Linked DNA regions of Homo sapiens: all the other regions are linked to region 1. The links are contacts of gene promoters, found by promoter capture Hi-C in blood cells and fetal thymus (Javierre and others, 2016). All regions are on one chromosome and are shown on one strand. The core of a region is centred on a gene start or on the middle of the fragment in contact, and the rest is flanking DNA. Distances in the headings are between cores, read along the strand shown.

Region 1 (3,303 bases), core at 617-3,116:
GCAAACTTACTCTCAGCCTGACCCATAGTTTCCGGAGGTTACCCTGGAATTTTCCGAGCGCCCTACTTACCTGTAGAGCTTGAAGTGAAAACGTACTCGGGCGTCCTTTGTCAGTCATCCTCCACTTTCCACTCTCTGGCATTCCTTCACTGGATTATTTGTAGAGATTACCGGGAGCCCGGCGTTGGGCACCAGAGACCAGCCTGGGCAACTGAGGGAGACCCCATTTCTACGAAAAAAAAAAAAAAAAAATTAGGCAGGCGTGGTGTCCAGTGCCTGTAATCCCAGCTACTCCATGAGAGATTGGACAAAACCTGGGACCAGAGACTGATTTTCTTCTAAAATGCTTTCTCCAAAATATTTTTAAAAGAAAAGGGGGAAATTGGAAAGGAAAATGTTTTGAGCCCCCCAGATCACTAAGCTAAAGGGGAAAGTCAATCTGGGAACTGCTTAGGGCAAACCTGCCTCCCATTCTATTCAGAGTCATCCCCTGCTCACTGAGATGAATGCATATCTTATTGCCTCCTTTGGAAAGGCTAATCAGAAACTCAAAAGAATGCAACCGTTTGTCTCTCACCTACCTGTGACCTGGAAGCCCCCTCCTGGCTTCGAGTTGACCCGCTTTTGCTTCAGGTTGTCCCGGATCAAACCAGTGTTCATCTTACATATGTTGATTGATGTCTCCTGTTTCCCTAAAATGTATAAAGCTGTCAGATACAGTCAGTTTCTCTTCCAAGGTTTGGCATGTTAACTTTCTTGTTTTTTTGTTTTCGAACTCAACTTTCTTGTTCTCCATGCCTCCTTGCCCTTAGTTACTGTAAACAACCTTCCGTCAGTTCTAATCAATAACTCACATCTGTTCCCTTGGTTACCTGCTCTGCACCCATTTCTCCCTTGGAAACCGCAAGTCCCACCATTGTAACTCACATCCCCCTTCCCCCTTCCTTATTTGGGAAAATATTCACAAATAGCCAACCGGGTCAGTTTAGATCGTGCGGTCTGACCCCAGCCCATGCCAGAGGTAGGGACTGCGTTAGGAATAAAAACCCCTGCTTTCCTCTGTTCAGTGTGCTCTTGCGATCGTGATTGATGCGAGCAGCACGCTTCTGCAGAAGTAAATTGCGTTGCTGAGAAAACTTTCGCTTGAGTGCTGGTTTCACTTTGCGGCACCGAGCATTTCTCTCCAACAAAACCAAGCTGTGCTCTGACCACCTTGGGCACATGTCATCAAGGACATCCTGAGGCTGTGTCATGCATATGCATCCCCAACCTTGGCAAAATAAACGTTCTAAATACTCTTACCCCAAATGCTCAGGGAGACTGATTTGAATAATCATAAAACTCCAAGCCTGCACTCCAGCCTGGGAGACAGAGCAAGATTCTGTTTCAAAAAAATAAAATAAAATAAAAAAACTCCGGTCTCCCGCACAGAGGACACTGCGTGAATTACTCTTTCTCTATTGCTATTCCCCTGTCTTGAGAAATCGGCTCTGTCTAGGTAGCGGGCAAGGTGAACTCCCTGGGCAGTTACAGAACTGTCATTATATTGCTTCCAATTTTATATATATATATATATATAAAAGGCACAAATAGCTATAACTTGTATACAGGTTAAATGTGAATGTCCTTCTTGCATGGTCGGATCCCAGCGCAGGAAGGACGCACCGCCTACAAACCGCTAGGCCAAAAGCGGTCATTCTGACCTCATCCAGCCTCACGTGAGATCGCAATCTCCTGTCACTCAGGGCCTGAGGGGCGGGGCCTGAAGCCCCATCCAATCAGGGGCGCTGGGGTGGGGACCGTTCAATCAGGCGCGCCGCCGGAAAGGAGAGGGCGGCTTCCGGGATCTGCCTGGCGGTTGCTTTGTCTCTCCTTCGCCGGAGCCGGCTCTTCCTGTTAGTCTCCGCTGCTAGTTCTTGGCTCTGGGAGGCCCAGGTGGCTCTGCAGCAGCCTCTGCCACCCTGTGACCTGCGAGTATTGGGACATCCCTAGCTGACGCCAGGACACCCGGGAAGCCGAGGAATGGTGAGTGGACTGCGCCTGGCTTCCCGAAGTGGAGAAGAGGGCTGGTTGAAACCTGCTGTGGCGCGACTCGGGCCTCCACGCCATCGGCTCCGGAACCTGCGGACCGAGTCGCCGTGGCGTAGCCGGGGCTCAGTCCTCTTCTGTTCAGGGCCGGGCCGGGCGGGGCGGGCAGCGGAACCCCTGCATCCTGTCTGTACCTGCGGGCGCCACTTCCGCCGGCCGGAGCCCTGTCGGGAACCCCTCGCCTCCCCTATCCAGGTAGTGTGGTGACCACGGGAGGGTGATGCGGGAGAGCCCCGACTCGGTGTCTCGGTGTGCGGGGTTCCAGCATGGGAGGAGCTGTGGTTCATGGGGCTTCCAGTCCCACCTTTCTTCCCCTAAAATTAAGCCGAGGCTTTGTTAAAACGTTAAACCGTGTGTTTGAGCAAACGGCGATTCATAAACCAGGTACCGCAGTCATGGTTTGTGGTTTGGGGTCCACAGAAGGGGCGTAAATGAGAGGCTTTGATAAGGTTAATGAGGAAGCAAACCATATTCTTTTTTTTTTTTTTTTTTTTTTTTTTTGGAGACGGAATCTCGCCCTGTCGCCAGGCTGGAGTGCAATGATGCAGTCTCACTCATTGCAACCTCTGACTCCCGGGTTCAAGCGATTCTCCTGCCTCAGCCTCCCGAGTAGTTGGGATTACAGGCGCCCGCCACCACGCCCAGCTAATTTTTGTATTTTTGGTAGAGACAGGGTTTCGCCATGTTGGCTAGGTTGGTCTCGAACTCCTGACCTTAAGTGATCCGCCCGTCTCGGCCTCCTAAAGCGCTGAGATTACAGGCGTGAGCCACCGCGCTCGGCCAAAATATTTTTCTGTTTACAAACATTTTACATGAGAGGAAAGCGGAGAATAAACCATCTGACACTCTACTGTAAAAAAATCTTTGTGCCTCTCTTCATCTTTCCTAAGTGTGCATATTACCAAAATGTCTTTAGGTTGATGTCCCCCTGTGAAAACTTTACAGGGTGTTGTGTCCTCAGCCCTTGGTCTGCTTGCTCATCTCTCTGCTAATACTGTGCTGTCCTGAATATTTTTGGTTGAAAATCTTAAAAGTATGTTAGGCAAGACATAACTCTTTTTTTAGATGACTGAAAATCATTAGACATTTGTCATTTTTACTAGGTATGAAAAACTAGTTTTTCTTGCCTAAAAAAGCCTGATTTGGGAATTTATGTGATTTCACAGGAATAGCATCTGGAAGTGGTGACATTAATGTCATTTTAAAAAACATGTG
Region 2 (3,096 bases), core at 159-2,658, 200 kb before region 1:
GTACATATTCATAGCCAGATAGATCTATCGGCCAGTTTGTAGAATCCCAGAAGTCCTAGCCTTCTTTTATTTCATCCCATCTCTTTTCCTTTCAGTTCCAGCTGGCAGTGTTTCTGCTGGTATATAATACTCAGAAACCCTGCCCTCCATGCAGTCCACAGGGTTGCAGGCCGTCAGACGAGGGTGTCCTCCATAGACCTTCCTGGATAACCTCATCTCTGTTCCTGGCTTCTGTTGAGATGGTTGATTGGATCCGTGAATCATACCCAGAATCTCTTTAACAAATGATGAGCCAGCCACACTCTTGGTGTCTCTCCAGTGCACGCTTTCTTATTTTTTGCCGTATGGATAGACAGAATTTTCCAAATCTTGAAGTCATGGTTCCTTTTTGCTACAACAATTCCTTCTTCAGTTTATCTCTCTCATCTCACGTTTCACTATAAGCGGCAAAAAACTAGTCTTTGCCTTTGACACTTTGCTTCGATACCTCCTCAGCTCAGTATCCGAGTTCCTTACTTACAATTTCTGTTTCCACAGAACAGTTGAATATGGTTTGGCCAAATTCTTTGCCACTTTATAATTGGAGGATCTCCTTTTCTCCAATTTCCTATAACGTCCGTATTTCTACCAGCCACTTCCTCAAGGCTTTTTAAACATGCACTTCAGAACTCTCCTGGCCTCTCCCCATGACCTAGTTCTAAAATCACTTCGACAGTTTTTGGTCTTTGTTTTAGCTGCACCCTACTTCCTGGTGCCAAAGTCTATGTTAGTCTACTGTGGCTACCATAACAAGGTACCACAGGCTGGGTGACTTAAACAACAGAAACTTACTTTCTTACAATTCCAGAAGCAACAAGTCCAGAATCAAGGCTTCAGCAGAGCTGGTGTCTTCCAAGGCCTTTCTCGTCTTGGAGACGGCTCCCATCTTGCTGTGTCCTCACAGGGTCCTTCCCTCTGTTGAAGTCTGCCTCCAGTCTCCTCCTCTTAGAAGACCAGTGATTTTGGATTGGCCCCACCATCTGACTTCATTTTGACTTAATTACTTCTTGAAAGACCCTATCTCCAAGTAATCACATTCTGAGGCTCTATGGGTTAGGGCTTCATCATGTAAATTTTCAGGGGGACACAATTTCGCCCATAACATGCACTGTCTGCTCTCATAATTCCATCTCCTCGCCCAGTTAACAAGTAAGAGATCTTAGCGGTCCACCTTGTCACTTTGTTTTCTTCTTCCACCCAAGTCCATTAACAGAAGTCAACTGCTGATCAAGTACCTTGTCATCGGCAGCCTGGTAAAAGTTACACCTTGCTCTTGTCTCCACCCCATGAGGTCCACAAAGTACATCATACACATGACCTCACCTGCCCCACCAGCAGCTTAGAGCAACGGGCTGCCACTGTCATTCTCACCTTGTAGACGAGATGACCCAAGCTCAGAGAAGCTGTCTGGCTGGAACGAGGTTCCTGCAGCTCGAAAACCAAGAGTCGAGATAAGCGTCAAACATAGCCTCTCGGCGGGCGCAGTGGCTCACACCTGTAATCCCAGCACTTTGGGAGGCTGAGGCAGGTGGATCACCTGAGATGGGTGGCTCGCTTGAGCCCAGGAGTTTGAGACCAGCCTGGGCAACATAATGTGACCCCATCTGTACAAAAAATTAAAAACACATGCACACACACAAACACAATCTCTGTCTTCATCTGATGATTTCCCTCCTATACTACGTGGGTTCTTGGCAGACTCAGTACCCACTCCCAGACTCATGTTCCCCCGACCCCCTTGTGACTGAGGGACAAATGCCCCCTCCGCTTCCACCATTGCCCTTTATCTCTCTGCTCTCCATAGCCTCTGTGTCTTCCTGCCCTGCTTCTGTTTGTCCAACTTCTCCTGTCCTGAGCTGCTCTGACTAGCCAGGGCTCTCCTCCCCACAGTCATGAAGCCCAGACTAACCATGTTCCTACTCTTATCTGGGAGGGCCTGGTTCACTCCCCCCAAGTTCTAGATTTGAGTTCTACATTTCACAGCAGTGAGGAAACAGGCCACCTGTATGGTGGGCTCTGCTCCATAAGCCGGGACCTCAGGCCGGGCTCTGCACTGTCCACCCAGCCCCGCCCCGTGGTTCCACCTTCCCAACATCACAGACTCAGGATGCAGGAAGTCCAGAGCAGCTTTATCCATCACCACCTGTGGCCTCAGAAATGCGGTGCTACTGGGAGCCGGGGAGCTGTGGGGGACCCAGGACTCTGGGCAGTCTGGGACTGTTGAGCAGCCTAGCAAGGCTGAGTAGCATTTCAGCCCTCCTTCCTGGCACAGATCACCTTAGTTTATGTGTAAACATGGCAACCAATAGGTCATCGGGTTGCGTCCAGGAGCAAATAGGAATGTGCATGTCAAGTCTAGCACAGTCCCTGGAGCATGCAAGTGCCCAGCACATGATATGTGTAGGTTGTAGAGTCTTCCTCTCTCAAGTCCTTTCACTATCCTGATAGAGCTTTCCCCCATGCCTTGTTAAGTGCATGATCTGTAAATGGTCAAGGCTTTACCCAGATAAATACAGACTCCTAGAGCTTGGGGGGATGGGGTGGTCTCCGTGGGTAGAGAACAAAAGGGTTGGGGGTGGAGATAAGGGAAAATGGCTGGGAAGAGGGAGAGCAAGGTGCCCAGCATGCTCTGGACACAGCGGGGCCCATGCTGAAGATTTCTTCCTCACAGGCTACACCAGTGGCCCCTGCAGGGCTGGCCAGGCCGCCCCGGTCACCGAGGACCATTGTAAAAACACGGGTTTGTAAACTCCAAGCTGAGTGTTCCTCCGCCGCGGTCATAGGGGCTGGGATGTGGCCTGTGCAGCGTCGCTGACCTGCATGTTGCCTTCCTGTAGCTGGCGGCAACCCGCGATCTCTAGAGAACAGCCTGGATGAAGAAGTGACCATCGAGATCGTTCTCTCCAGCTCTGGGGACGAGGACTCCCAGCATGGCCCGTACTGCACAGAAGAGCTGGGGAGCCCCACAGAGAAGCAGCGCAGCCTCCCCGCCTCCCACCGGAGCAGCACCGAGGCCGGAGGCGAGGTGCAGACCTCCAAGAAGTCCTACGTGTGTCC
Region 3 (3,352 bases), core at 767-3,266, 240 kb after region 1:
CACAGCAAGACTGGTCTAAAAGAAAAAAAATTAATTATATATATATAATTAAAATTTTTAGCTAGTATTACCACGTAATGTGTGTGTGTGTGTGTGTGGGGGGGGGGGTGTAATCATTCTTTCATATGCTTTTATTAAATTCCCGTTTGTTAGAGATGCACTTAATTCCAGCGTTCTTCATTTTACAGTTTCTAGACCCAAACCATTATCAGCAGTTCCAAAGCAAGTTGTAACAGGAACTGTGTTGACAAGATCTGTTTTCATCAACAATGTGTTATCTAAAATTGGAGAAGTTTGGGCAAGCAAAGAACCTATAAATAGCACCACACCTTTCAATAGGTATGTTTTCTTACACGTTTCATAGTCATGCTGCTTGTTAATCTTTACTGGACATCAACAGCGTTCATCAACAATCCACTCTCTTTGCCTAAGTTTATTAGTGTATGTAAAAAAGAAAAACTCTTTATGTTGGCTATGTTTCTGAGAAGAATTTTTAAAAACCTTTAAAAGTGAAATGTTCATTATTATTTGTAAGCAATGCAGAACTGTACAAAGTAAAACGAATGAAAACCCTCTGTTCTCCCATCTCATCCACTTGTTATCAGTGCTCCTTGTGATACATCAGAAGTTAAATTTTTATTTTCATAGTTCTAAAATAGAAGAACCATCTCCTATAGTGTATTCGCTCCCAGCTCCAGAGCTGCCTGAGGCATTTTTTGGAACACCAATTTCAAAAGCATCACAAAAAATTTCTAGGTAAGAGTTTATTAAATCATTCTTAGAGACACAATGTTAGATGATAGTTACAATTGTAATTTTTAATTATCTTTAACATTTTATAGACTTTTAAATTATTAAATGAATATTTTAATGTTTGCTTTTTATTATACTTTGGGCAGCAGTAATTTTAGGAAATTTTACATCAGGTAGTAGTATACTTAAAATTTTTGTTCAATAATTTCAGACTGCTTAGTGGACAGGAGTGAAGTTTGTCTCATGAGCAAACTATTAACTTACTTTCCTTGTTACCTGCTTGTTAGTAGACCTCTAAATGAGGGTTGTTTTTATACTTAATTACAGATTAATCTTGGGTAGCTCATTGAAGCTTTCTTCTGTTGAACAGTGCCTACTAAAATGTCTTGTGTTGCTTCAGATGCAGCACGTTTACATCTTACCTGTGGTGTTAAGTTGAAGTTTTGTATCCAAGATGAAATTGTGATTGCAAGTATTTACTTACGAGCATTGGTTAGTTGAAAAGTGTTCATAATTATGTACCACAGAGAACAGAGTATGTCTCTTCATGTATTGATTCTTTGTCCTTAATATGCCCAGGATCTTTGGAAATTTTTGATTGTTTTATCAAAGACAAAATTACATTGTTTAAAGTATTTATAATGATTATAAATAATCATTACAAGACTCTGAATTTTTGATGCTAAGAAAAAGATACTTGAGATAAGGTCATACAAACAACTGAGGCCAGAAGTACAGAGTGTAGTTTAATGGACATATGTTAAACCTTGAAAGGATTTTTCTTTTTTTGGACTAAATTTAGTTAGGTTGTTTCCCTTTATTTACTCTGGTAAGATGGTATTTTAAATGGAAAGAAGATATTTTAAATGAAAGTCGTTATTACCGACATTCTTTTTTTCTACCAATAGTTCGGATTTTTTTTTCTGCAAGTCCCCTTTTCTTGGTCTTTTTGTAATTTAATGGCTCTGAGGTTGCGGGGAGCAATAATAGAAGTTGAAAGGCCTTTGATTAATGGCCTGAGGCCCTTAAAGAAGTATTATGAGCATTTTTTAAAGCCAGTGTTAACTCAGATGTAAGAGAGCCAGTTGAGTTTTGAATATTTACCTTCTGTGTTTTTCATGCTGAGTTTGCATTACTGGGTAGACAGTATAGCCTGCAATGAAATAAGGCAGAATAGATAACATCCGTGGGTACATCATATAGTAAGGCTGAAGTGCTAATTTATGTAATTGATGTTTTATTTTTATGTGATATAGGATGCATTCTTTATATGGATTATGGTAAAAAAAAATTAGCTCTAACAAGTAAAAAGTTACATAAATCAATTTTTTAAATACCACTATAGATTTTTGAAAATAACCTTGCAGATAGTAATGAAATCAGAAAAGGTTAGTTCTGAAAGAATATTTGGTCTCAGGGTTGAAGACCTGAGACCTAATGCAATATTTAACATTTCATTTAGAAAATACCTTAAAAAGATTTCTCAGAACCTTTAAACTATTAAGTCTTGATGATACAGAAGTTTTGCTTTGACTTGGTAGGTAGCTTTTGTTGCACAGTCCTTGCTTTTGAGAAGCATTCATTCATAAATAGGTGCCTTAAACATAAATATTAACACAATGCAAAACATTTAACAGTGTTCCTTTGGGATAGCTCAGTATAAAAGTGAGCAAACTGTTTTCCAAGTTTGGATCGAATCCAAGTACAGAATTTAAATGCAAACAAGATAGAGAAAGAAGAGAATCTAGAAGAAAAGAAATGTCTAGCAGCCTGATTGGATATTCTTGGTTTGGTGGAAATCTAAAAGCTGTGTTTGATACAGAGTAACAAGTGGGAAGACATTGAAATATTTCCCCATTATCACCTGTGTTGGTCTACCGCTCCTAATAGCAAAACTCTCATTTGATAGATAGAATGACAAGGAAGGTACTGCAACTACAAGTTTTTATTTCTGGGCTCCAAAGCATACTCTCCTTTTCTGGTTATTCTCAGGTGAGCCACTTTGGCATTTGGGGGAAATAAAAAGGGATTGTTTTTACCACTAGGAAATACAACCATAAGATAGACTGTTTATTAGGAAATCGAGAAGAGAGTGACCTGTGCAAATGGTCCACCAAAAATTACCACCTGAAAACCCGACTTTTGAGTTTAAATTTATCTGTAAATTAAGCTTTAAAACTTACTTGGATTATACATGCTCAGTACAAGTAATCAGTGGGATCAGTTTTATCATTGGGACTAGGACATTACGGAAAACCTTGTAGTAGAATCTTAAAGTTGTACTTTGTCACCAAACTCATTGACTTGAAAAAATTAACTTTTGGTTGTGGTGGTGGGTGTGGGTTGTCAGTCTAGTCTTTTTTTTTTTTTTTTTTTTTTTTTTTTTTTTTTTTTTTTTTTGAGACGGAGTCTCGCTCTGTCGCCCAGGTCGGACTGCGGACTGCAGTGGCGCAATCTCGGCTCACTGCAAGCTCCGCTTCCCGGGTTCACGCCATTCTCCTGCCTCAGCCTCCCGAGTAGCTGGGACTACAGGCGCCCGCCACCGCGCCCGGCTAATTTTTTTTTTTGTATTTTTAGTAGAGACGGGGTTTCACCTTGT
Region 4 (3,264 bases), core at 478-2,977, 210 kb before region 1:
GAACAGGTGCTTCACCAGAAGGATACCTCCTGTTACCTAATGTCCACACTCATTTCTTTCCTACCCTCACCCTCTCTTCAGCCTCTGGCAACCACTGATCTGTTTTTCAGCTCTGTGATGTCATTTCATTTCAAGAATGTTATATAAATGGATTCATATAATATGTAACCTTTGGGGATTGGCTGTTTTCATTCAGCGTAATTCTATGGAGCTTCATTCAGGTTGTTGCGTGTTACTATTCCATTGCTTTTCGTTGCTGAGTAGTATTCCATCACATGGAAGTCCAACAGTTCGTTTAACCATTCACTGGTTGAGGACTATCCGGGTTGTTTTGGGGTCATTATTGTATAAAGCTGCTGTAAATATTTGTGTGCAGGTTTTTATATACACATCAGTCTTCATTTCTCTGGGATAAATGCCCAGGTATGCAATCGTTGGTAAGTACAAAAGTTGGTAAGTTTTGTAAGAAAGTACTCTTATCTGATGTTAATATAGCTTTTCTTCTTTCTTTTGATTAATAATTGCATAATATATTTATTCCATCCTTTTACAGTCAACCTGCTTATATTATTATATCTGAAGTAAGTTACTTTTAGATAGTATATATGTGTTGTTTTATTTTGTTTGAGGCGGAGTCTCACTCTGTCACCCAGGCTGGAGTGCAGTGGCGCGATCTCAGCTCACTGGAGCCCCCATCTCCTGGGTTCAAGCAGTTCTCTTGCCTCAGCTTCCCGAGTAGCTGAGACTACAGGCGCGCACCACCAGGCCCGGCTCATTTTTGTATTTTTAGTAGAGACAGGGTTTCACCATGTTGGCCAGGCTGGTCTTGAACTTCTGACCTCACGTGATCCACCTGCTTCGTCCTCCAAAAGTGCTGGGATTACCGGTGTGAGCCACTGCACCCGGCCTAGATAGTATATATTTGGATAATGTTTTCTAATCTACTCTGCCAGTTACTGTGTTTTGATTGATGTATGTAGACCATTTGTATTTAATGTCATTACCGACATGTTAGGGCTTAAGTTTGTCTTTCTGTTTTTCTGGCTCTGTTTCTGTTTCTCTGTTTCCTTTTTCCTATTTTTCTGTGTGTTACTTGAACATGTAGAATTCCATTTCGATTTACCTAGTGTGGTGTTGAGTGTATGTATATTTTTGTATAGCTTTTTTAGTGGTTATTCTAAGTATTACATTATATATACATAACTTATCTACTGAGTATCATTTTATCAGTTTGAGTGAAGTGTAGAAGCTTATTTCCTTTGTTCGGGCACCGTGGCTTGTGCCTATAATCCCAGCACTTTGAGAGGCCAAGGTGGGAGGATTGCTTGAGCCCAGGAGTTTGAGACCAGCCTGGGCAACATAGCGAAACCTTGTCTCTACAAATAATAATTCTAAAAAAATTAGCTGGGAATGGTGGTGTGCTCCTATAGTGCCAGCTACTTGGGAAGCTGAGGCAGAAGGATTGCCTGAGCCCAGGGGGTTGAGGCTGCATAGTAAGCTGTGATTGCATCACTGCACTCCAGCCTGGGTGACAGAGTGAGACCCCATCAGAAAAGAAAAAGAAAGAAATATAATATACCTCCTTTTACATACCCTCATCCTTCTTCCCCATTATAATGCAGTTGTTTAAATATTTCCTCTACATACATTTAGAACCGCATCATAGAGTGTTGTAATTTGTGCTTCAACTGTCAAACATTATTCAGAAAACTCAAAAGGAAAAAGAAAACCTATTTATTACCCATATTGTGGCTTACTGTTTTCTTTCTTCTTATGTTCCAAGGTTCCTGCTTTTTGTTTAGAGTGTTTCTTTAGCCATTCTTTTAAGATAGATCTGCTGGTGATAGACTTACATATTTTTTCCTCATCTTAGTAGGTCTTCATTTCCCCATCATTCCTGAAGGATGTTTTCACCAGATGAAAGATTCACACTTGACAGTTTTCTTTCAGCACTTGAAAAATATTATGTTACTTCCTTCTGGCCTCCATGGCTTTTGATGAGAAATCTGCTGTCATTCAAAAACTTTTTCCCTGTAAGGAAGGTATTATTTTACTCTGGCTACCTTTAAGATTTTTTTCTTCCTTTGCCTTCAGTTTTCAGAAGTTAAATTATGCTGTGTCTTGTTATGGATTTCTTTAGATTAACCTGTTTAGAGTTTGCTCAGCTTCTTACATTTCTAGGTTTATGTCTCTTTCCAAGCTTGGGAATTCTTAAGCTAGATTTTTCTAGTACTTTTTTAGTCCCTCTCTCTTTCTCCTCTCCAGACTGCTAAGGATACAGGTTTTAGATCTCTTGTTAGAAACTGTGTAATTTATAAAGGTACCTGAGACTGTTCATTTTTTTTCAGCCTGTATTCTCTCTGTTGTTCAGATGGAATAACTTTATTTTTCCGTCTTCAAGTTGACTGAGTCTTTCTTCTGTCCCCTCCTCAGCTGAGCCTATTCACTGAGCTTCTTATTTCATATTGTGGTTTGTACTGTTCACATTTCCAGTTAGTTATTTTCTGTATCTTCAGTTTCTTTGCTGAGACTTTCTGTGTCTTTACAGACACTTTCTATTTTTTCGTTTGTTTGGAGTGTGCTTATAATTGTTCATTGAAGCATTTTATGACAGCTTCTTTGTCAGATAGTTCTAACGTATCTGTCACCTGAGGGTTGGCATCTGTTGGTGGTTATCTTTATTCATTCAGTTTCAGATCTTGGTATAGTGAGTGATTTTCTGCCTGCATATTTTTATATGATGAGACTCTGGACCTTAACTTCGGTGTGGCTGGTTTTGTTTGGTTGTGCAGTGTTGTTTTTGACATAGCTCCAGCAAGAGAAGGGCAGGTGGGCCACCACTTGTTATTACCTGGTGAGAGAACGTCAGGTTTCCTCCTGGATCTCCGCGGGCATCAAAGTGGGGATGCTCCTCATACACCCGAGTGGGAGTGGAGTTCCAGCTCCCTACATGGTCTCCACTGGTGGCGGGGGGGGGGCTTGTTCTTAGCTAGCAGGGATGGAGGTCCCAGCTCCGCATTTGGCCTTCTCTGAGACCACCCCAGCAGGGGTGTTAGGGCACCTCATTGCACCTGGTGAGGGTGGAAGTCTAGGCTCCCCAGTCATTCTCTGCTGGTGTTGGTAAGAAGGGGCCACAGTTTTCTTATGTGGTATTAAGTGGAGTAGAGCAGTTATTACCTGTTTGGCTGGGCTGCCCCTGTCCAGGTCCTGTGGCTTTTGTTGGAGCTTTTTTTGGTCTGTGCCCATGGGTATTTCTTGGTAGCT
Region 5 (3,120 bases), core at 378-2,877, 220 kb after region 1:
CTTCTTTTCTTACATTTTTCCTTACTTTGTATCTTCATCCTATGCCTGACACACAGTGCTCATACATGTTTATTGGATTGAATAACATTTAGAAGGAAAGCAAATTTGAGAAAACATAGCTCCTGAAAATGAGTTCAGCAATATTACTAGCTATTATTTAGATCCATAGAACTATAGTTTCTATAACTCAGTTTTCCTGTTTCCTGGTAATGGTCCTTTTAATATGGTTACTGACTAATATTTCTTCAATTAAATACCCCCTTTTATCTAGTGATTTATGCCAGTACCAACAATAAGATAATTTTTGGTATTTGACTTGTGCTATATTTGTTTAGAATATAACTTGCAAAGCCTTCAGCTTCTTGCATTTCCAGGAAGCCATTAGATTTTATTTAGAAGTGCCTCTGCCACTGTACATAATTGTTGATCTTATTTTTTCATAATTCTCTTAGATTTTGATTTGTAGTGAACATTTCTTGCTTTCAAATTATTATTTGTGCCTAAGGAGTAAAGTTATTTAGAACAGTTTCCAGGATTTTAAGCCCCCATCCATGTAGTTAGACTTTCATGACAGATCATTTTCTCACTTGTGCCTCTGTAAATAAAAAGATGTGTAGTAATCTTTTATTACCTAAATATACCCACCCTGTGGGTTAACCAGGGGTTGCTGTAAATATTAAATTACAGTAAAATATTAATATGTATTGTTGAGATATTTGGGGATTATTACCAGCTTTTTTTCCAACTCTTAAAAATCTAGATGATTCTGTGCAGTTGTCAAGGTTATGCTACAACTACCCTGTAATTCAGAACTACTACACCAGTCGTCGACAGAAGTTTGAGCGTTTATCAAGGTATAGTAAAACAATTTTAGAAATTACATCTGTAAGAAGTCAAAGTTTCTCAGAATAGTGTTCATCGTTTTACAAAGTGATTAAATGGGTAGAATTCTCAGTTAAGTATCAGAATTTGCTATTACCATTACTATTTTATTTCTCTTTTTTAAAAAAGTACACGAATAACCTACTTAGTTCCTTTGAAATGAAGTAAAGGTAATAGACAAAGAAAGTGGTGTTGAGAGTCTTGACCACACTTCTGGAAATAGTCGTCTTCCTCGAGTTGCAGTGACAAAATTACAAAGCATATAACATTTAGAGCAGTGCCACAAACGTTGATTCCAGGTTTCTTACACCTGAATCACCTGGGAATCAGTACTTTAAAATCTGTGCCGGCTGTAATTCTGATGCATGGCAATTGTGGGAACCAGTGCTTTAGAATGACCAATTTAGGAGAGTGAACATTAGCTTGGGAGATTGACTAGGCATATTTTAAAATTCTAGATCTGTTATTTCCTAAGTGTATATCCTTGGCAGCTTTGTTATGCTTTCTAATCCTGCTTGTTATATAAGTTATAAAGTCAGTATAAAGCTAAATAAAATAGTATGTGCAGGACATCTAGTGCAGTGCCTGGCTCATTGGACAACCGCAAAGAGTAGTAAGTGCTGCCGCTATTCACAATTAGAAAAGGAAATCAGGGGAAAAAAGAAGAGAAAAGAAAAGGAAATAGGGACCATACCTGCACGTTGCATCATAGGCACTCAGCAATAGATATTCGAGTGAAGGAATCACTGAGGATAAAAGACTAACCCAAGTGATGAAACAGAAACTTTAACTCTCTGTCTTTGAACTTCATTATTTTCACTACGCTGGGCTTTATGGTAGTTTGCTTAATATGGTGAAAAATAGAATGGTCACTGGCTGGATGGACCACATGGGGACCTCACCTTGACTGACTGGCTTGTTGATGACTGAACTTGAGGCAAATTAAGGGCTTATCCGACTAACTCTCCTTGATGTCTGTAGTTCTCATCATGCTAACTAGGGTCAAATTCCCAATTCTCTCCTCTCTCTCTGTTTTTAGAGACAGGGTCTCTGTTGCCCAGGCTGCAGTGCAGTGGCATGTGTATAGCTCACTTTAAACTCCTGGGCTCCAACGATCCTCCTTCCTTATCCTCCTGAGTGGCTAGGACTACAGGTGCACACCACCATGCCCAGCTAGTTTTTATATTTTCTTTAGAACTGGGGTCTTGCTGTATTGCCCAGGCTGGTCTCGAACTCCTGACCTTGAGTTGATCCTCCTGCCTTGGCCTCCCAAATCACTGGGATTACAGACATAAGCCACCATGCCCAGCCTCTTCTCTCTTTGATAGTTGGGATTATTACTTTTAATATTTTGATGCTGGTTGCTTTGATATTAATTAACAGTGATATTAAATAAGTCTTAATTTTTCCCTGATTGCAGAGGGAAGTGGAATCCCGATTGCTTGATGATTGATGGACTGGTTTCTCAGTTAGGAGAGCGAATTGAGAAGTTGTGGAAACGAGATGAAGGAGGCACAGGAAAATATCCTCCTGCTAGTCTGCATGTAGGTTTGCAGTAATGTGCTATCATTTAGAGTCTACAAAGCTGGGGAGGGAGGAGACATGCTTAGCTGTGTGTCTGGCACAAACTTGGGAAAACAAGAAGCATGAATGAATGAATGACTGTATAAGATCCACTGAAGGTTTTATCCCTTTGTTTTATAGGCAGTACTTGATATGTACCTATTAGACGGCGTTACTGAAGCAGCCAAACACTCTATTGTATCCTTTTAAGTTTTATCCAGTGTTTCATGTATTACTAAAATTATAAAATTTCAAGAGTAGTGGAAACCTGACATATCTAATTGCAAGGTTGAATTTTGGTTTTGTTTTCTTAAGAAGAGGTGTTAACCCAGGATCTGTTGTTTGGGCTCAGATGGCCTGTGATCAACCTAAAACTATATGAAAAATTTTGTTTTTTATTTGTTTTTCTAGGTATAGGGTACTTGGCTTTTATCAGACACTTAAATGTGTCCAAGACACTCAAAAAGTTAACAACAGTTGCTCTAAAATACTACCACCAAGTGGTCACTATCAATGGCATTAACCTCTGTGCTGGAAATGAATACATTATAAGTTAGCGTGATACTACCTTAGGCATTATTTGAGTCCTATAGTCTTTGTGATAATATTTTTGTGCTAATGTTAGTTACTTAGTCTAAAAATGTATAATTCCATTTATAATTTATAAGCTAGATG
Region 6 (3,292 bases), core at 139-2,638, 200 kb after region 1:
AAGATTCTTGGATAAGTCCCTTATTTCATTAAGGGCTGCAAAATGATGATTTTTATGTTCTGTCAATGTAAAGAATAATTTTCTCATTAATTAGGGCTTTCTGGTCACTCTGAAACACAATGTCTACAGAACAGGCAGGATAAATGTTTAGTGTTTCTTAAGTACTAATTTTCAGAGTAAGCAGGTGATACCTAGTTACTCCAATTGTTCAATATAAGGTCTTTTGTAGGTGGGGAGGGTAGGCTTCCCCCTTGCCCCACCCCTCTTTTTTTTTTTTTTTTGTATCCCTGTGAATTTTTCAGGTTTGGCATATTTAATGTGTTTCATTAATTTTATTGTTTTTGATGCCCAAAATGTCCTGTCATTGGTAATGAGAGCCCCTTCATGTTGTCTGATACATTCCCTTTCATCTGTGATAGCTTCCTAGATTATTGGCATAAGATGTACCAGGCTCATTTTATGTATTTTCTTCCCCCTGACCCGGAATCAGCCATTGCTCCAAGGAAGGTATTTAGGTAGTAGTTCTAAATTTCAATAAAGAAATAAATCAGTTTTATTTATGGTTGTTAACCCTAAAAAAATTCTATCTTAGATAATATTTGAGATGTACTGAGAGAATTTTTAAATATTATATAATTGAATGTGTTTTTTAAATTGTGGCATTTAAATAGATAAGGATGGCAATTTTCTAGTTTAACATACTTTTTTGTTATCACTAATCTTTTAATTTCAATTAACTTCATTTAACTCAGTTGACTTCATTTGCAGCTTGAATAATGGATGACATATTTGCTTTTAATGCTGTTTCTAGTTTTTTAACTTCATTTGTCTAATTTGTGGTTTTAGATCTTGAAGTTCTAACTGGTATCCCAGCTGAAGTACCACACATTAGAGAAAGTGTAATGAGACAAGGGCGCCATCTGTGTTTCCAGTTAGTAAGTCCAACAGGAACAGCTGTTTCAACTCTTAGTTACATAAGCAGGACAAATCAGCTTGCTGTAGGTTTTTCTGATGGCTATCTAGCACTTTGGAACATGAAAAGCATGAAAAGAGAGTAAGTATAACTTTTTTCCCTTATTTGATTATAGGTAGTTTTTTTGCATATAGCTTGTACTCATTTACTAATATTTGAAAGTTAGCATAGTGAGAAAAGGGTGGGTAGATTAATGATTGAATGAATGATTGAGATGACTAATTTTTCATGGCATTAAATCAATGTGAATACCATAAAGGAGTGACTTAGCACATGAATTTAGCTTTATTTTTTTTCAGTGTTTATTTAAAAGGCATTACAGTCATGTGTTTAACATGCTAGTAAAGCATGACTTTGTAACTTTACAACGTTTTGGTCAACAACAGTCCTTATGTAAGAAAGGGGTCTCATAAAATTTTACTGTATTTTGATTGTACCTTTTTAATGTTTAAGATACCATTGTGTTATAGTTGCCTGCAGTATTCCATACAGTAACATGCTGTACAGGTTAGTAGACTAAGAGCAACAGGCTATACCATCTAGCCTAGGTATATAGTAGGCTATCTCATCTAGGTTTGTGTTACTAGACTGTATGATGTTTGCACAATGACTGAATCCCTGACGAGCATTTCTCAGAACAGATCCCCTTTTGTTAAGTGACACATGGCTGTGTTTGTATAATATGAGTTCTTTCAGAAGTACCTTCCTAATCATCATCTGTGTAAAGTAACAGCTTAATAAAGAATTCTCAGTTGAGAGGGAAAAAAAAGGATTTTTAAAAATCAAAGTTACAAAATACTTGTGTTTTAAATTTTTTCTGCTGTCAAAAAGTCCCCAAAATATAATTATATTGATACTTTGTAGCTAAGTTAATTTGTGTTAAGCGTTAAATAGATGCCTATTTGGCCCTTAAGTTGTCAATTTATTTGTTTCTCCATTTTTCCTGAGGCATACTGGTATATTTTATTGAGTAATTTATCTTATAGGAAGTGTATCTCAACTCTCTTTGCTGTTATCCTTTTATCAGCTCTTTTTTTTCTATTTTTTTGGGGGGTGGGGTCTCACTCTGTTGCCCAGGCTGGAGTGCAGTGGCACGATCTTGGCTCACTGCAACCTCCACTTCCCAAGTTCAAGTGATTCTCCTGCCTCAGCCTCCCAAGTAGCTGGGATTACATGTGTGCACCACTGAACCCAGCTAGTTTTTGTATTTTTTTTTTTTAGAGACGGATTTTCACCTTGTTGGTCAGACTGGTCTCGAACTCCTGACCTTGTGATCCACCTGCCTCAGTCTCCCAAAGTGCTGGGATTACAGGTGTGAGCTACCACGCCCGGCTGCCAGTTTGTCAGCTCGTCTTTGAATTTGCTCCTAAAGAAATACCTGCAGTACCTGGCTTCTACAGCAGTGCTTTCTCTAACACTATCATCTCTTGGTCAATTTTTGCTTTTTTAGCAGTTTATGGGAACTCTTCAGTTTCTAACTCATCTTCTGTTGTAGTAGTGGGGAAACTGATGCTAAACCCAAACAGCTGAAAAGTCTCGTGGCAGTATCTCGTCTCTTTGTAGGGCATCTTTTATGGTTGAGCAGTATGTAGGAGTGTACATCAAATATGACTCTTAGGACCAGTTTACACAGACATGAATGCATCCACTTGAGTAATTCTAACACTCCCCAGTTCTACCTCTTGGGCATTGAATATGACTCTTAGGACCAGTTACACGCACACATAAATGCATCCGCTTGACTGCATCTGAGTCTTCCCAGTTCTGTCTCTGGGGGATGGGTGCCATGACCATAGTCTTGATGTCTTGTGCCGTGTGTATTTTTGCAGATAAGATGACTTGGCCATGGCCCACAGATCACTTATTCTGGGGAAGTGTAGGAACAGTGGTTGCCTAACCCAAGTTCTTACATGATGTACCTTTTTCCTTTCTAAAAAATAACTTAAAAATATGAAATATACTAATTTGTTTCAGATATTACATACAATTGGAAAGTGGACAAGTTCCTGTATATGCTGTCACTTTTCAAGAACCTGAGAATGATCCTCGGAATTGCTGTTACTTGTGGGCTGTTCAGTCTACACAAGATAGGTAGGTCTCATACAAACTTTGTTTTGTTTTGTTTTGTTTTTTTGGAGACAGAGTCTCGCTCTGTTGTCCAGGCTGGAGTGCAGTGGCGTGATTTCGGCTCACTGCAACCTCCGCCTCCCGGATTCATGCCATTCTCTCGCTCAGCCTCCCGAGTAGCTGGGACTACAGGTGCCTGTCACCATGCCTGGCTAATTTTTATATTTTCAGTAGAGACGGGGTTTCACCATG
Region 7 (3,395 bases), core at 80-2,579, 180 kb after region 1:
CAAGCGATTCTCCTGCCTCAGCCTCCTGAGTAGCTGGGATTACAGGCGCACGCCACCACACCCGGCTAATTTTTGTATTTTTAGTAGAGACGGGGTTTCACCATATTGGCCAGGCTGGTCTTGAACTTCTGACCTCGTGATCCGCCCGCCTTGGCCTCCCAGAGTGCTGGGATTACAGGCGTGAGCCACCGCGCCCGGCTGGTACAGATATATTTTAAGAGGAAGCAAAACGTTGTGTCTTTCACGCCTACCTTTAATATTTTCAGGGACTTTTCTTTCTTCCCAGAATGAAGTGTAACTTCCCTCGGTTAGCTCAAAGGTCTCTACAATAAGTATATGCTACTGTCTATCCTCATATGTTAACAAATTTTATGCTTTTGCTATTCCAGAATCGTCATCAATCCTGGACTCATTCTGTGGAAGAGATGTTTCCACTCTGATGTTTCTTTGCTCATGTCCTTCATCCTGGAGTGCCATCTTTCCTTTTTTAAATACTCAAATTTCAGGTCCTCCTTCTAAATCCAATGTTTTCACTGTATTTTTATTTTTATTTTTATTTTTTTGAGACGGAGTCTCACTTTGTAGCCCAAGCTAGAGTGCAATGGCGTGATCTTGGCTCACTGCAACCTTCGCCTCCAGGGCTCAAGCGATTCTTGTGCCTCAGCCTCCCGAGTAGCTGGGACTACAGGAACGCGCCGCCACACTCGGCTAATTTTTTGTATTTTAGTAGAGACGGGGTTTCACCATGTTGCCCAGGGTGATCTCGAACTCCTGAGCTCAGACGATCTGCCCACCTCGGCCAACCAAAGTGCTGGGATTACAGGCGTGAACCACCGCACCCAGCCCACTGTACTCTTTTATTTCCCCTTATCCCACTTTTTTACTGGGATCTCACAGCATATGTACCTCTATTGTAGTAGCATTTATTCTTTGTGTCTGATACTCTGATAATTGACTATATATCTCCTTTTCTAGATTGTAAACTCCTTAAAGTCAGGAAGAAGGTTATCTTCTTGACCTTGCATTCCTTTACTAACACGGTGTTTTAAAAGTAGTTTGTGATTTTAAAATGTTTGAATTAAGTTGGTAAGAAATTTCTGAAAGGCTTGAAGTTTCTGGGTCCACTGGTAGTTTACATTTAAATGACAATTCGTCTTTTTATTAGTCAAAAAGAAAAAAAGTACCATTGCATACAAAGTGGTTTATAGAAATGTTTGCTTGGTACATGTTGCAATATAATTGTTGAACTAGATTAGAGTTCCATTTTCTGTGGTGGAATTCAGTTACTGCAGGAATTTGTGTATTTCACACAGAAAACTGATTTATAGTATTCTGTTTTTAGTATCTGGCCTAGTAATTTTAAGAATTTTGTTTTGTTTAATACTGAACCAGTGTATACTTAAAAATAATTGGGCCCAATCTTGAGTTTTAAAAAATTGATTTTATTGTTTAACATGCCTATTTCTTGTCTCTGCTAGTATCCTAATAATATCCTGCTATACAGTATCCTGTTATCCTAATTTATTACATTTAGGACCTGTTAGTCCAAAGGCACTGTGACCTTGTCGAATGCCCAGGAATAAGATTTGGTGATTTTTGCCTTTTAGGAATTCATAGTGTAGTGGAGAAGACAGGCAAGCAGAAGTAATTTTTTTTTTTTTTTTTTTTTGAGACGGAGTCTCGCTCTGTCGCCCAGGCTACAGTGCAGTGGCGCGATGTCGGCTCACTGCCAGGTCCGCCTCCCGGGTTCATGCCATTCTCCTGCCTCAGCCTCCCCAGTAGCTGGGACTACAGGTGCCCACCACCACGCCCGGCTAATTTTTTTTGTATTTTTAGTAGAGATGGGGTTTCACCGTGTTAGCCAGGATGGTCTCGATCTCCTGACCTCGTGATCCACCTGCCTTGGGATTACAGGCGTGAGCCACCGCACCCGGCCGAACAGTATTTAATTTAATTAATTAATTAATTTTTTGGTGGCGGAGTCTTGCTCTGTCGCCAGGCTGGAGTGCAGTGGCGTGATCTTGGCTTATTGCAACCTCTGCCTCCCAGGTTCAAGCGATTCTCCTGCCTCAGCCTCCCAAGTAGCTGGGACTACAGCGCGCTACCGCGCCCAGCTAATTTTTGTATTTTTAGTAGAGACAGGGTTTCACCATGTTGGCCAGGATGGTCTGGGTCTCTTGACCTTGTGATCCGCCAGCCTCGGCCTCCCAAAGTACTGGGATTACAGGCTTGAGCTACCGCGCCCGGCCATGAACAGTATCTTCATTCAAAGCCAGTAGAACGTTCCTGCTCTGCCTATCTAGCCTTTGGAAAGGAATTGAAACTTAGTAAATTACTTTTTATAGGTTGCCAGTGCTGGCATGTCATAAAAGGCTGGGATTCTGTTTAATTTTGTACAGTACTGAACGTAGGTGTTTCATGTGTGTTTGTGTTTTCATATACCTTTATATGAGATATTCTTTCTAATAATATAGTTTTTCTTTTTGAGACAGTCAGGCTGTGTTGCTGAGGCTGGAGTGTAGTGGCACCATCTCAGCTCACAGCTACCTCCACCTCCCCGGTTCAAGCGATTCCCATGCCTCAGCTTCCCAAGTAGTCGGGATGACAAGCGTATGCAGCCGTGGCTGGCTGCTACATTTCTTGTTTTTAGTAGAGACGGGGTTTCACCATGTTGGCCAGACTGGTCTCTAACCAACTCCTGACCTCAGCCATTCTCCCGCCTTGGCCTCCCAAAGTGCTGAGATGACAGGTGTGAGCCACAGTGCCTGGCCTATTTCTTTCTTTTTTTTTTTTTGAGACAGAGTCTCGCTCTGTCGCCCAGGCTGGAGTGCAGTGGCACGATCTTGGCTCACTGCAAGCTCCGCCTCCCGGGTTCACGCCATTCTCCCTCCTCAGCCTCCCGGGTACCTGGGACTACAGGTTCCCGTCACCACGCCCTGCTAATTTTGTTTCTGTATTTTTAGTAGAGACGGGATTTCACCTTGTTAGCCAGGATGGTCTCGATCTCCTGACCTCGTGATCCGCCCGCCTTAGCCTCCCAAAGTGCTGGGATTACAGGCGTGTGCCACCGCGGCCCGGCCATACACTTTTGTTTGTTTTGAGACTTGTTTGTTTTGAAACGGGGTTTCGCTCTTGTTGCCCAGGCTGGAGTGCAATGGTGCAGTGTCGGCTGACTGCAATCTCCGCCTCCCGGGTTCAAGTGATTCTCCTGCCTCAGCCTCCCAAAGTAGCTGGGATTATAGGCATGCGCCACCACACCTGGTTAGTTTTCTGTATTTAGTAGAGACGGGATTTCACCCTGTTAGTGAGGCTGGTCTTGAACTCCTGACCTCAGGTGATCCACCCACCTCAGCTTTCCGAAGTGCTGGGATGACAGGTGTGAGCCACCGCGCCTG

Evidence for each region. The method cuts DNA at HindIII sites, captures the fragments that hold promoters and counts their contacts. A CHiCAGO score of 5 or more calls a contact.
Region 2: a fragment that was not itself captured here is called in contact with the fragment with the promoter of ZNF669 in region 1 in 3 of 17 cell types (naive CD8 T cells, total CD4 T cells and M2 macrophages); the score reaches 5.9 in naive CD8 T cells.
Region 3: a fragment that was not itself captured here is called in contact with the fragment with the promoter of ZNF669 in region 1 in 2 of 17 cell types (neutrophils and monocytes); the score reaches 6.1 in neutrophils.
Region 4: a contact is called between a fragment that was not itself captured here and the fragment with the promoter of ZNF669 in region 1, in 1 of 17 cell types (fetal thymus). The highest score is 6.3, in fetal thymus.
Region 5: a contact is called between a fragment that was not itself captured here and the fragment with the promoter of ZNF669 in region 1, in 1 of 17 cell types (neutrophils). The highest score is 5.9, in neutrophils.
Region 6: a contact is called between a fragment that was not itself captured here and the fragment with the promoter of ZNF669 in region 1, in 3 of 17 cell types (neutrophils, monocytes and M2 macrophages). The highest score is 8.9, in neutrophils.
Region 7: a fragment that was not itself captured here is called in contact with the fragment with the promoter of ZNF669 in region 1 in 11 of 17 cell types (fetal thymus, total B cells, naive CD8 T cells and 8 more); the score reaches 12.0 in fetal thymus.

What each region holds. Positions count from the first base shown.
Region 1 is chr1:247,102,919-247,106,221 of GRCh38, reverse strand. It overlaps ZNF669 (zinc finger protein 669), which reads left to right and starts at 1,866. Exons shown (of 4, transcript NM_001142572.2): 1 at 1,866-2,025. The coding sequence starts at 2,023. FLJ39095 (a long non-coding RNA gene) reads right to left here and starts at 1,711. Exons shown (of 3, transcript NR_147502.1): 1 at 582-1,711; 2 at 71-229. RefSeq lists an enhancer at 1,621-1,915. The HindIII fragment of the contact is 5,762 bases long and covers 1-3,303 here.
Region 2 is chr1:247,301,057-247,304,152 of GRCh38, reverse strand. It overlaps ZNF496 (zinc finger protein 496), which reads left to right. Exons shown (of 10, transcript NM_032752.3): 10 at 2,877-3,096. Among named protein-coding and RNA genes, the nearest start is that of ZNF496, 29 kb to the left of the region's middle. The HindIII fragment of the contact is 5,941 bases long and covers 1-3,096 here.
Region 3 is chr1:246,864,648-246,867,999 of GRCh38, reverse strand. AHCTF1 (AT-hook containing transcription factor 1) reads left to right here. Exons shown (of 36, transcript NM_001323342.2): 25 at 189-339; 26 at 649-756. Among named protein-coding and RNA genes, the nearest start is that of AHCTF1, 66 kb to the left of the region's middle. The HindIII fragment of the contact is 1,818 bases long and covers 1,108-2,925 here.
Region 4 is chr1:247,317,285-247,320,548 of GRCh38, reverse strand. The region is part of intron 6 of ZNF496 (zinc finger protein 496); the gene reads left to right. Among named protein-coding and RNA genes, the nearest start is that of ZNF496, 13 kb to the left of the region's middle. The HindIII fragment of the contact is 951 bases long and covers 1,252-2,202 here.
Region 5 is chr1:246,887,700-246,890,819 of GRCh38, reverse strand. AHCTF1 (AT-hook containing transcription factor 1) reads left to right here. Exons shown (of 36, transcript NM_001323342.2): 17 at 761-854; 18 at 2,303-2,426; 19 at 2,587-2,643. Among named protein-coding and RNA genes, the nearest start is that of AHCTF1, 43 kb to the left of the region's middle. The HindIII fragment of the contact is 4,757 bases long and covers 1-3,120 here.
Region 6 is chr1:246,905,313-246,908,604 of GRCh38, reverse strand. It overlaps AHCTF1 (AT-hook containing transcription factor 1), which reads left to right. Exons shown (of 36, transcript NM_001323342.2): 5 at 847-1,054; 6 at 2,948-3,064. Among named protein-coding and RNA genes, the nearest start is that of AHCTF1, 25 kb to the left of the region's middle. The HindIII fragment of the contact is 7,654 bases long and covers 1-3,292 here.
Region 7 is chr1:246,926,577-246,929,971 of GRCh38, reverse strand. All of the region lies in intron 1 of AHCTF1 (AT-hook containing transcription factor 1), which reads left to right. Among named protein-coding and RNA genes, the nearest start is that of AHCTF1, 3.7 kb to the left of the region's middle. The HindIII fragment of the contact is 4,526 bases long and covers 1-3,395 here.